3 separate regions of the Homo sapiens genome follow, and regions 2 and 3 are each linked to region 1. Evidence: promoter capture Hi-C in human tissues and cell types (Jung and others, 2019). All regions are on one chromosome and are shown on one strand. Each heading gives the region's core, a stretch centred on a gene start or on the middle of the fragment in contact. The rest is flanking DNA. Distances are from core to core; before and after follow the strand shown.

Region 1 (4,220 bases), core at 1,285-3,784:
GGATTGACACATTCTTGGTTTTTGGTGGCACGAGGGTCAGTAATTCACCATCATTTTGTCAGTGTGGAATCCCACTTCCTCAACTGGGAAAAATGAGGACTTATAAGGCTTTCTGGTCATTGAAGACTGCCCTAGCCTAACTCAGTTCTGCATATTCTGCAAGGCTTGGGTCAGAACAAAAAATAACTCCCTTCTTATTTCCCATCTCTGCCCTTCTCCCAACTAATTCTCAGAAAGGGCAAGGGACTAGGCAATCTGGCACCCAGAGGGGACCAAGAAATGTGTTTTTTTGTTCAACTTTAAGAGAACCACAGCAGTTGGCAAACTGAGGTATCATGCTCACCATTGTGTGGCTACAAATCTGGACTCAAATCTCAGCTCTGTTGCTTACCATCTGTGTGGTTCTAGGCACATTATGGACCTCTCTGTGCCTCTGTTTCCTCCTTAGGGAGACAAGGAAGAATCATTGCATTTACTTCATAGAGTGGTTGGGAGATAAGGTAAGATCATGGAAGGCAAAGCACTTAGTACCACATGGGGTGCATAAAAGCGCTAAAAAAATTTAGCTCTTATGATTTTCATTATCATCATTTTTGTTTGGCATAGGCAAAGAGCTATATATCTCAGCCAATCAGGGTCAGCTTAGCGACCCCATAGCCCCCAGGAGCAAATTCAACTCCTCATCTAGGGGCAGAGACCTCTCTCTCTCTCTCTTTCTGCCAGAGATGGCCCCAGCTTTGGGGAGAACAGGCTGGGAAGTGAATCCTGAGAAGAGAATCTGAAACTGCGATAGAACTGGTTTTCAAATAGCCCCTGTTCCCTAAGAAAACAAAAGAAACAACTGCAAAGAACCCTCCTCCATCATCCTCACCCTCCCTAGAAGCCAGGACTCAAGTTGTGTATAGATCAGGACACAGTCAACAGCTTCCAGAAAGGGATAGAGCAGCTTAAAGTCACTTCTGACTTCAAACAGAAGCAAGCAAGTCCCTCTTCCCTTCAAATAGAAGCAAGCAAAATCAACTGCCCCTGTGTTTTCCTATCAATTTATTTCACTCTTAGAAACTGACCTCCAACATGGATGATGGGGACCGACTTGTGGGGAACGTATAAGGATGACTGTCAAGCCAGCACCAATGTCCGTGCACACAGCCATGCACAGCCTGATGTTCTGTGATTCAGCCCTCAGCAGGGCTCCTTTGCTGTGATTGTCAGAGGTTTGGGAAGGTCTGGGGCTGAGTGGGGTCTGGGGCAAGCTCCAGAAAGAGTCACCAGCAGCAACTTACCCATGAAGTAGGTGGTGGTCTTGCAAACGGCGCTCCCGAAGATGAAATCCTTGAGCAGATTGGGGATGAGGTTGAACGGCATGCAGAAGAGACAGAGCATGAGGTCGCTGACAGCCAGGGAGAGGAGGAAGATGTTGGTGACCGTCCGCATCCGCTTGTTCCGAATCAGCACGGTGATGACCAGCGTGTTTCCCAGCACGCTGAGCAGGAATATCAAGGAGTACAAGAGAATCTGCACCGCTGGCTGCCACTCTGCAGAGAGAAACAGGAGCAAGACGGAGGGATGGAGGTGATGACAGCAGAATGCTAAAACCGAAGCCAAGGGTGAATTCCTGCCGATTTTCCCCCCACCGGGGTGTACATCACTGGACCCACGATTCCTGTCCTGGCAACATTTTGCGGAAACAAATTGAGGAAAGCAGAGACTGAATTATTTTCTTTTTAGAAGGTTGGTTTGTTAAAGGATCACTCAGGGAACCACTTTTTCTTAAGAACAAAGCTCCTCAAGTGAACAGTGATCACTTTCTTTCCTGGCTGCTAAGCATTATTTCACTTTAATCACTTCATGCTGGGTTTCCCCCCAAGAAAAGAAAACAGCTGCATGGTGACAACACCTTTTCTGCTGTGCTTGTAAGTTCAGGCTTTGACACTTGTAGTCCCTCTTGCTTCACTCAGCTTTTCCTCCCCTGCTTTTGTTCCCCCAAGTCCTATTCATGAATGCCCAACTCCCCCATGGGGGACAATAAGAATATTTGACTCTATTCTGCTTTTTAATCTCTTCTCCAAACTTCTGAACATATGACTTTATCTAGCCTTGTCTCACAATGACTTGGTTATATATATTTTTTATCAGCCTTGCCTTTGCTGATTTCTCCCACAACTCAATAGTTTCCTGAATTAAAATAACAGCTTCCGACACTTACCTTTGGAAGGACGGGGCTGATCCAAGCAGAAAAGCGTCTCATTTTCGAGCCCGAGTTCACAGGGAGGAGTGATGTTGCTTCCATTCACAAGAAGGCTGTCAACCACATCCATCCTTGCCTGCTGCTTTCCACCAAGTGCTGGAGAGCTGGTGAATTGCTCACTCCCGGCTCATTCCTCTAATGACCGAAGCGTCTCGCAGATGCAACCTGCCGTGGAGGAGCAGGGAGGGAGTGATTTCCAGGTGTGGGCTTTTTCAGCCATTCCTAAAGGCGACTTGAGTTCACCTCACTCACTCCAGCATTTGTACTCCTGTTGTGGAAAAGGCAGTGAGCACAAGCCAAGCCCGCTCCACCTTCACCCCGCCCCACCTCCCCCGGCCCTTTCCTGGGCCAGTCTTAGGGCCCTGAGTACAGACAGCCTGGCTACCCGTTAACCATTCTCAGCGTGTGGCTGCTTTTTACACACATGTGTACATATGCACGGACACACACACACACACAGAGGCTTCCCCAGTACTCCTCTATATAGGAACCCGTCACCATCCCAGACATATGCAGAAGAAAGCCCAAACCGGCTGTGTGAGACAGGAACAATTAACACGGTAACAGATCCGATAATGCAGACCATCAGGCCTAAAGAACACGGAGGGACTGTGTTCTACCTCCTTATAGAAAAGCAATTAGTGCCTTTTTAGCTTTGGAACCATGCCCGGTGGTGTGTGTGTGGACAGAACTGCTGGCTGGTTGTTAAGTTGCTACTAAACACAGTGTTGTTTCTCGTGGTCTCTGCCCTTGTTAACTAGGATTGAGGCACTTTTGAACATAGGTACCTGGGTCCTTATTACAAAAGACGTTAGTGAGATTTCCTCTTCATTCATGAAGCCTTGCATTCAGCACATCTTCATTGAGAGTCAATCATTTGCCAGGCACTTTTCTAGCATGTCAGCAAATAATGAGCAGAATTATTTCAGGTAGTAAGTACTACAAAGGGAGTAAAGCAGGGAGATGTGATGTATACAAACAGATTAGGGGCTGATTTTTTGGGGGGCGGGGACAGGGTCTTGCTCTGTTCCCCAGGCTGCAGTGGAGTGGCGCGATCATGGCTCACTGCAGCCTTGCTCCCTGGCTCAAGCAATCCTCCTACCTTAGCCTCCTGAGTAGCTGGGACTACAGGCACACACCACTAAGCCCAGCTGATTTTTTTAGTTTTAGAAGAGAGGAGGTCTCGCTATGTTGCCCAGGCTGGTCTCAAGCTCCTGAGCTCAAGCAATCCTCCTGCCTTGGCCTCCCAGTGTTGGCATTACAGGCGTGAGCCACTGCACCTGGCCTGGGGCTGCTGATTTAGAAGGGGTAGTCAGGAGAGGTCTCTTAAGGAGGGGACTGTGATCTGAGACTGAACCACAAGAAGGACAAAGTCTTGTGAAGATCCCAAGACAGCTTCTCCCAGGCAAAAGGAGGAGCACTTTTAGCAGAGGTAACAGCAAGTGCAAAGGCCCTGAGGTGGGAATGAGTGTGGCCCCATTGAGGTACAAATAGATAGAAGTAGGAGTGAGTGAGAGGCAAACAGCAGGACGTGAGATCAGAGAGGGGGGCCATCTCAGGGTCCTGGGTGTTCCATGAAGCTCTGTGGTGCTGGAAAGCCCTTCAACCTCCATTGCACAGATTATGTCCTCAGTTCAGACCCTTTGGAAAGCAGACGACAATGGCTGTGAAACCTGCGTTTCTGACGCCCTGCTTGGCTGTGCTGAGACTTGGTCCATTTGCTAGATACCCGTGGGGCTCCTTGTGTACTGACAATGCTTCCACTGGCAGAGCTGCATGCTACATCTTGCTGAGTCTCTGCCAGACACAGAGGAACTAACGCATTTTTACTGTCAGTGTGGGGCTGGAAAGACAGTGGTGCCTCTTTTCTTTGAAACCATGAAGACCACATGGTTTGGGGCATTTAGTCACAGAAACAAGAAGGGGAAGGGACACTGGAGAAGCTGTGGATGTTATTGGGAGGACAGGCTTT
Region 2 (4,220 bases), core at 488-2,987, 340 kb after region 1:
CTAGGGAGGCTGAGACAAGAAAATTGCTTGAGTCCAGGAGGTGGAGGTTGTAGTGAGCCGAGATTGAGCTACCGCACTCTGGCCTGGATGAGAGAGCAAGACCCTGTCTCAAAAAACCAAAAACAAAACAAAACAAAAAACAAATATACCACATAAAAATCAGTGAGTGCTGAGTCAACAAAAGGAAAACAATCAAAATGTAAGTAAGCTCTGCCCACTGCCATCAAGGAGGTGAAATCGTAGTTGCAGACACACACACAGACAAGCGAAGAAAGACTTTACATTGCCAGGTAACAGATATATTTAGGTTGACATGAGGAATCAGACTTCACAAGTGCCAAGCTAGAAGACGGCACAACAGAAAAATCAAGGATGCAATGCATACACAAGAATCAGCAGGAAGAAAGGGGTCCTTTTTTGGGGAGTGTGCGTCAGCTTTATTGAGGTATAATTTAGGAGCAGTAAATTCACCCTTTTTAGTGTATATTTCTATGAGTTTTGATAAATACATAGAGTCATGAAGTCATATTTCTACCAACACAAAAATTCCCTTGCACTCTTTGGTAGTCAACTCCTCTGGCCACTCCCCAGCCCTTGGCAACCACTGTCCCTATAGTTTTGTCTTTTCCAGAATGTCAAATAAATGGAATCATTCAGTCAGTAGCAGTAAAGGTGAGATTTAAATCTTAAGCAAAGAGGAGCTTCTTAGAGCTGAAATGTTTCTAAAGCATCTTAAAGCAGATGGAGCTGTTCGTAAAGGAAGCTTGTGCTACAAAAGCTGCCATGGATAATGGAACTTGTGCAGGTTTGTTACTTCCACACAATGTGTCGCTAAACATTCTGTTGCCTCTTAGTGGCTAGCCAGGGAGTTCCCAAAGCCCCAGCCAGTAGGTGGGTTCACAGAGATTTACTGATGACTGCCTTGTGCTAGGAATTATACCAAGTAGGCTTTAGAGCTGTGGCTATATGTTGGGCTGTCTGCTCAGCCTATACTTTTATGTAGAAATCTTCCCCACTCAGAGGTGGTGATATGGTTTGGATCTGTGTCCCTGCCCAAATCTCATGTCAAATGGAAATCCCCGATGTTGGAGGAAGGGCCTGGTGGGAGGCAACTGGATCATGGGGGCAGAGTTACCCCTGTTGTTCTCGTGATAGTCAGTGAGTTCTTATGAGATCTGGTTGTTTATAAGTGTATGGCCCCTCTCCCCCTTCCTTCTCTTCCTCCTGCTCCAGCCATGTAGGATGTGCCTGCTTCCCCTTTGCCTTCTGCCATGATTGTAAGTTTCCTGAGGCCTCCCCAGCCATGCTTCCTGTACAGCCTGCAGAACCATGAGCCAATTAAACCTCTTTTCTTTATAAATTACTCAGTAGTTCTTTATGGCAATGTGAGAATGGACTAATACAGGTTGGTCTCCCAGAGCCATGTGTGTGCTCTATGATAATGCCCTGTGGTCATAGCTGGTTAGGCCACAGGTGAATCTCTGACTTCATTAATTCAACAAATATTCATTCATTTAACAAATATTGAGTGCCCATTATGTATCATGGACAGTGTTGGGGGTTGGATCAATGCCTAGACTCAAGCTGGGGGCATCAGATTTTCTCTCCTGGAATTTTAAATTGGGCATAAAAGACAATCGTCAATCTGGGCTGGTGGCTATGGGGGGCGGGGGTGGTGCACACACCAATATAGTGAAGGTCTGGTTTGAGGAAAGATGTGCAAAGAAGTGGAGATGGGAGACTCTGGGGTCCTGAAGAGAGACCAAAACTACTCACCCCCAGTCCTTCCTGCCTTTCTGGCTACTCGTTTTCATTCTTCTTCATAGGATTCTCTCCTCATCCATTGAGGGATGATGTTTCTCAAGGTTTTTCCTCTTTTCTTTTCACTCTTAACTATTTTGCCAGGGAGACCCCATCTACGTTCATGTTTTCAATTCCATCTATACTTTGATGATGCTCACATTTAGATGGTCAAGCAAATCCCGCTCCCAAGGTTCAGACCCAGCTATCATGCTTTCTACTCAGCATCACCACCTGGATGTGCCATATTCACAAAGCTCTATGTGTGTAGAACTGAACTGATATTTGAGCCCTTAGCCCTTACTCCCTGTGGTAGGCAGAATAATGGCCTCCAAAGATGTCCACCTCTTAATCACTGAAATTTGTGAATATGTTGTCTTATGTGGCAAAAGGGACTTACTTGGCAAATGTGAATAAGTTAAGGATCTTGATGGGAAGATAATCCTGGATTATGTGAGTGAATCCAATGTAATCACCTGTGTCCTTATAAGAGGGAGGCAGGAGTGTCAGAATCATAGAGAGAGTTTAGAAGATGCAGCTCTACTGGCTTTGAAGATGGAGGAAGGGGCCATGAGCCAAGGAATGCAGGTAGCCTGTAGAAGCCGGAGAACACAAGGAAATGGATTCTCCCCTAGAGCCTGCAGAAGGAAGCAGCCATTCCAACACCTTGATTTTAGCCCAGTGAGACCCACATGGACAGCTGACATCCAGACCTATAAGATAATAAATTTCTGTTAAGTCACTAAGTTTGTGATAATTTGTTACAGCAGCAATAAGAAATGAGTACACTTCCAAAAGCTCACCCTTCTACATTTTCGATCTCAGCAGTGTCACTTCTGTTCATGCAGTTCATAAAGGCAAGGCAGAATCGTAGGAGCCATCCTTGACTCCGTTTCCCAGGTGCACACATCCACTCTCCTTCCTGAACACCTCTCGAATCTACCATTTCTTTCCATTGCCATAACCTAGTCTCAGCCACTATTCTTGATTTCTCTGGCACCTTCCTAAATAGTTGCCCTGCCTCCCTTCACCCTATTCTTTGCCCTGAAGTCAACATGAACTTCCTAAATGAAAACCTGATCATGTCACGTTTCTACTATAAACCTTCAATGGCTTCCCATTGTCCTTAGGGTAAAGTTCAAACTTTGATGTGGCTCACCAGGCTTGTGTTCTGTGATGCCTATTTTCTTCCCTAGCCATTATCTCTCCCCATTCTCTTCTTTCCTGTTCTCCCCTTCAAAATACGTATGCTGCCTATACCACATGCATTCTGGTTCTTGCATGTGAAGTGCTCTCTCTCTCTCTCTCTCTCTCTCTCTCTCTATCACTTCTGGGCCTTTGGACATGATTTTGTTTCTATCAAGAGCATTTCTCCCTGGCCCTTGCCTCTTTGGCTTCAGACTTTGGCTTCCTCTGGAAGCACTTCCTGACCCTTCCAGTTTGGTTTAAACGTCATTCTTATGTGCCCTGACACTTCGACCTCCCCTGTCTTAATGCTCATCAAGCTACATTGTAATTGCTTATTTAATTGTACGTCTCCTCAACTAGACTTTAAACTCCATGAAGTTCTAGAAGAATGGCAGCCAAGTCTGTCTTACTCATAGTTGTATTTCCAGCTTCTAGCACAGTGCCTGGCACAGAGGGGTTCCTCAACAAATGTATTTTAAATGAATTCAAAGAGACCCATGGACAAAATTGAGAAGAGGGAGAAGTCTTTTGAAGCTGATGGTGTTGGAGGGGCAGAGGGAGGTGGGAATCAAGAAACACTTCAGGGAATATGTAGTGTTTGTACTGGGCCCTTGTCCAGCTTTTGAGCTGTTGTCCTGCACCCCCAGCTGCCTTTCTATATTATGCTCTGTAGAGGTACGAACAGGTGTCTGAAAACTACATTTCCTAGGCTCCCTTGCCAGCTGGGTCCAGAGGAAAATCCAAAGGCAGCAGCAGAGAGAAGAGTCCTGCTCTAGTTTTGAGAGTGAAGACTGCTGGAAGTTGCTGGAGCAGCAGCAGGGGTTGCAGGGAGGAGGAGAATTCCAGATTGCAGCAGCCCAGGCAGAGGCAGCAGCTTTCCAGCAGTTCCAGCCATGTCCCTTTGTCTCTCCAGAACTGGCAAGCCTCACAGCAGCAAGTGTGAATGTAGGGACTTCAGCCCAAGGAATTTTAGCTATGGCTTCTTTTCTTGCTCCTTTAACCCCTCTGTTTCTTCCATTTACTCTTCCAAACCTCCCAGCACCTTGGAAATCAATTCACTGTATCAAATTCCCTGTGTTTGAAACATCTAGAGTGGGAGTCTATTTTCGAGCCTGGACCCAGACCCATATTGCCTTGAAGACAGGATAGCGGGAGAAGACAGAAAGGCATTCCATTGGAGAGACTGCCCCAAGCAAGTGTCCAGAATGGGAATGTTTGGAGGGGTTGTGGAG
Region 3 (4,220 bases), core at 544-3,043, 330 kb after region 1:
TCACTTGAGGCCAGGAGTTCAAGACCAGCCTGAGCAACATGGCAAGAGCCTCGTCTCTACAAAATTTCAGAAAGTTATCTGGATGTCGTGGCACGCGCCTGTTGTCCCAGCTATGTGGGAGGCTGAGGTGGGAGGATCACCGGGACCCAGGAAGTTGAGGCTGCAGTGAGCTATGATTGCACCACTGCACTCCAGCTTGGGTGACAGCGTGAGACCTTGTCTCAAAAAAAAAAAAAACCAAATAAATAAAGTCACATTCTTCCCTAGAGCATAAAGCAATAATTTTTAATAACAACTATATCACTCATTAAAATTATCTTCTCCTTCTCATCCCAACACTGTGTCAAACAGGAATCTGCTGTGGATGGCATTTGCCAATAAGAAATTGTGGCTTTGGCTTTAGAAAAATCCAGATCAACTTTTTGTGGCCAAAATTCACCAGAAATATATTTAACTCTCTCCTTTCCTTTAATCACAGAAGCTTGGCCCAAAATGCTGATCTTTCCTGGAGCTGGCCATTCTAGCATTACATGGGTGTTCCCCATAGAAGAGAACAATCAACAAGATTAAGTTACTCTTGAGTTCTTAATTGATTTTCCAGAACTTCCTCTTACTACCACAAAACACAGCTTTCTGAGCAATGCATTCAGTTGAGCCTAATCCTGTTGGGAACTTTAGTGAACAAGACACATTCTGGAAATAAACATGATTTCACATGTAAATAACTGATACTCTTGACCTCCCCAATAACCCTTACCAGGCTGGTGCCAAAACAGGTTCTGTGTTCATGTTACACACTCTGAGAATGGTTTAAATGCTCTTCCTCTCCAGAGTTTTGTTGTACAAAATATGTACTAGAAAAAAAGAGGCCATTCTGACAGGACTCGTCAGTGCCTTGACATGAAAAGATTTTGGTCAGGCTAATTACAGTAATTGTATTTAGTCATTCTGACTTGGTATAATTTCCTGTCTTGTCGGTAATGTATAGTTACACCTAAACAAAACAGAGTTAATCTCTTTTAAGTAAGAGATGGCATGGCTCCTTTGTAGTGTGCGTATTAACCTAAATGGGAAAGCCTACATAGGACTAGGTTCTAGTTCAGGAACACTCCTGCCTTGGAATACCCCCCGAGGGCCTGCAGAGCGAATGAATGCTCCCTGTGTGTGAGTTCCACAGAACTGAAGCACCATTCAGAGGAGTTCTCTCCACAGGCCTTGTATCAAGGGTCAGGAAACTTTTTTCTAAGGGCCAGGGAGCAACCCTATAAGGCTTTGTGAATCACGTGCCTTTGGTTATACCTCTCAACTGCCATTGTAGTTCAAAGGCAGTCACAGACACTAGGTAAGGAGAAGATGGGCATGGCTGTGTTCCAACAAAACTTTACCTATAAAAACAGGCTTTGGGCTAGATTTTACCCAGGGGCTTGTAGCTTGCCATCCCTCACTTTACTTTTTTTATGGAGCAATTGCTACATTACACCGCAATTATCTGTGATTTGCCTGTCTCCTCCACAAACCTACGAAGATTCTGCACTGTGAAATGTTTTCACAAAAGAAGTCCAATCATTGGGTAACCCATTGTAAAAATAACTGATTCTGGCAGAGGTTTTCAGTGGATAAGAAAACAAGTGGGAGAGTTTAATGAAAAACAGGATATTTGCATAATCCCCAAATATCACCCCACAACATGCATATAAATTCCAAAGGGGGAAAATCGTAAATTTACAGTGGAAAAACCTGGCAGAAATCCCGTCAATCAAATGATCAAAGTTAATATACCTGATAATGTGATAAACCAACACCAGGTACCTCTGTGGGATTCCTGCTAAAAATAAATAACTTGGATTCAATCATGAGAAAACATCAAACAAACCCAGGATGAGGGGCATTCTACATATTAAGTTGGTGCAAAAATAGCTGCAGTTTTTACCATGACTTTTCATGGCAAAAACCACAATTACTTTTGCACAAACCTAATACATGTCAATATCATGAAAGACAAAGAATGAGGAACTGTTCCAGATTAAAGAATGGAAAAAAAGCTGGGTGTACTACATTTTAGTAGTATAAAAGTGGTGCCTGCCTGTTCAAAAATATTCCAATCATATGAAATTTTTTTAAAGTTAAAAATAAAAATCCCCACTCTCTGAGACAAAACCGCTGAAAATAACTTGAATTTTGGGCTTCTAGATTCTACGTGCTTCTGGGTCCCTCACTATGCTACTTTAGTAGGAGCAGAGCGATGTACTATCAGGCATTTTAACAAGTTCACCGGCTGATGCTTATGCTCTTTACTCTAAAGCTTGAGAGACCTCTTGTCTTTGACCTTTCTGTTAACACAAATTGTGTGTGTATGCATATAGTTTTGCACATACACTCTTGTAGAAATTAAACTCATACCCACATGCCTAAATGGAATCCACAACCAAACTGAATGCTGCCTGGCTATCTTGACTCAATGATCAGTCATTGATACCCCCTCTCCCGCACCCCGCCGGCAGCTTAGGCAGCAACAGCTCATACTTTTACACAGCTGTTTAATATTCCCCAGAAGGGATCAACAAACGTCCTTTAACCAACCCCCACTAATAGGCATTAGTGTTGTTTTCAGTTATTTAGAGCTGGTTTTGGATCCCACCTTGCCCACTTGGTAGTTGCGTGCCCTTGGAGGAGCTGTTCAACTTTTTTTACAACTCACTTTTTTCCTGCATCTGTGAAGCTAGGCAGTCTCCCCCAGGTTGCTGTGGGGTTTGGAAGTGTTTAGCTGAGGGAAAGTGCACAACATGGTGCCCAGCACAGAATCAATCAGGGATTCAATAACAGCTGAATTTCACTCATTTTCTGACTGGTCTCATACTTTGTTTAGGGTCTAAAATATGGTATTCTAGGCTGGGCATGGTGGCATACACTTGTAATCCCAGCACTTTGGGAGGCTGAGGTGGGCGGATCACCTGAGGTCAGGAGGTCAAGACCAGCCTGGCCAACATGGTGAAACCCCGTCTCAACTAAAAATACAAAAATTAGCCGGGCGTGGTGGTGCGTGCCTATAATCCCAGCCACTTGAAAGGCTGAGACAGGAGAATCTCTTGAACCCAGGAGGCAGAGGTTGCAGTGAGCCAAGATCATGCCACTGCACTCCAGCCTGGGTAACAAGAGTGGAAACTCCATTTAAAAAAAAAAAAAATATATATATATATATATATATGAATAGTATTCTAAGACAAAGTCCCAGTTCTCCAGCTGGGATACTGTGGGGGTGTGGTTTGAAGTCCAGGCACCTGCCATGTGAATGGGGCTCTGCTTTTTGTAGTGCCAACTCTGGGCCACTGTGTGTACTGCCACAACACAAAAAAACAAGTTCAAAGCTGCTTTGGAGAACACATCTTCAAACGGTGTTGGAATTTTTTCTTTCAATTTTTATTTTTATTTACTTGTTTATTTATTTTTGAGACAGGGTCTTGCTCTGTTGTCCAGGCTGGAGTGCAGTGGCACAATCAGTGCTCACCGTAGCCTTGTCCTGCTGGGCTCAAATGATTCTCCTTCCTCAGCCTCCTGAATAGCTGAAACTACAGGCATGCACCACCATGCCTGGCTAATTTTTTGTATTTTTTGTAGAGATGGGGGTGGGAGTTGCCAGGGAGAAGGGAAGGTCTCACCATGTTGCCCAAGCTGGTCTCGAACTCCTGGGCTCAAACAGTCCGCCTGCCTTGGCCTCCCAAAGTGCTGGGATTACAGATGTGAGCCACCGCGGCTGGCCTCAATGTAAAATTTTGACATAATTTCAGACATATAAAAGATGCAAGAAGAGTACAGATTCTTTACTCGTATTCCCCAAATGTTAACATTTACCACACTTATTTTATATCTACACACACAAACACACATTTTTGTCCTGAACCTTTTTAGAGTCAGTTGTGGCTACAATGACGAACTCTTCTCAGTTTGTCTGGGACTTTCCTGATTTTAACATTGAAAGTACTGCATCTAGGACCCCCAGAAGTCTTGGGCAAACCAAGTCAATTGGTCACCTTAGTTGCCCAGGTACCCGTAAATACTTCAGTGTGTGTGTACTAAAATCAAGGACATAACCACTGTATAATTATCAAAATCTGGAAATTAGCTGTTCTGGAAAAATGCATCCTTCCTAATGTCAGGTGCAAGGTAAAGCCCAGGGCTTAGCTTATTTGTGCAAACACTGTCTATGCTTCTGGAAACAATGG

What was found. Contacts are between HindIII fragments. The study calls those that stand out against the background at their distance.
Region 2: a contact is called between a fragment that was not itself captured here and the fragment with the promoter of CCKAR in region 1, in 3 of the 25 tissues and cell types used here (IMR-90 fibroblasts, aorta and liver).
Region 3: a contact is called between a fragment that was not itself captured here and the fragment with the promoter of CCKAR in region 1, in 4 of the 25 tissues and cell types used here (H1 embryonic stem cells, aorta, lymphoblastoid cells and 1 more).

What each region holds. Positions count from the first base shown.
Region 1 is chr4:26,487,950-26,492,169 of GRCh38, forward strand. CCKAR (cholecystokinin A receptor) reads right to left here and starts at 2,535. Exons shown (of 5, transcript NM_000730.3): 1 at 2,207-2,535; 2 at 1,284-1,535. The coding sequence starts at 2,318. The HindIII fragment of the contact is 14,703 bases long and covers 1-4,220 here.
Region 2 is chr4:26,832,884-26,837,103 of GRCh38, forward strand. It overlaps a transcript of TBC1D19 not described here. Among named protein-coding and RNA genes, the nearest start is that of STIM2-AS1, 26 kb to the right of the region's middle. The HindIII fragment of the contact is 7,646 bases long and covers 1-4,220 here.
Region 3 is chr4:26,814,799-26,819,018 of GRCh38, forward strand. It overlaps a transcript of TBC1D19 not described here. Among named protein-coding and RNA genes, the nearest start is that of STIM2-AS1, 44 kb to the right of the region's middle. The HindIII fragment of the contact is 4,799 bases long and covers 1-4,193 here.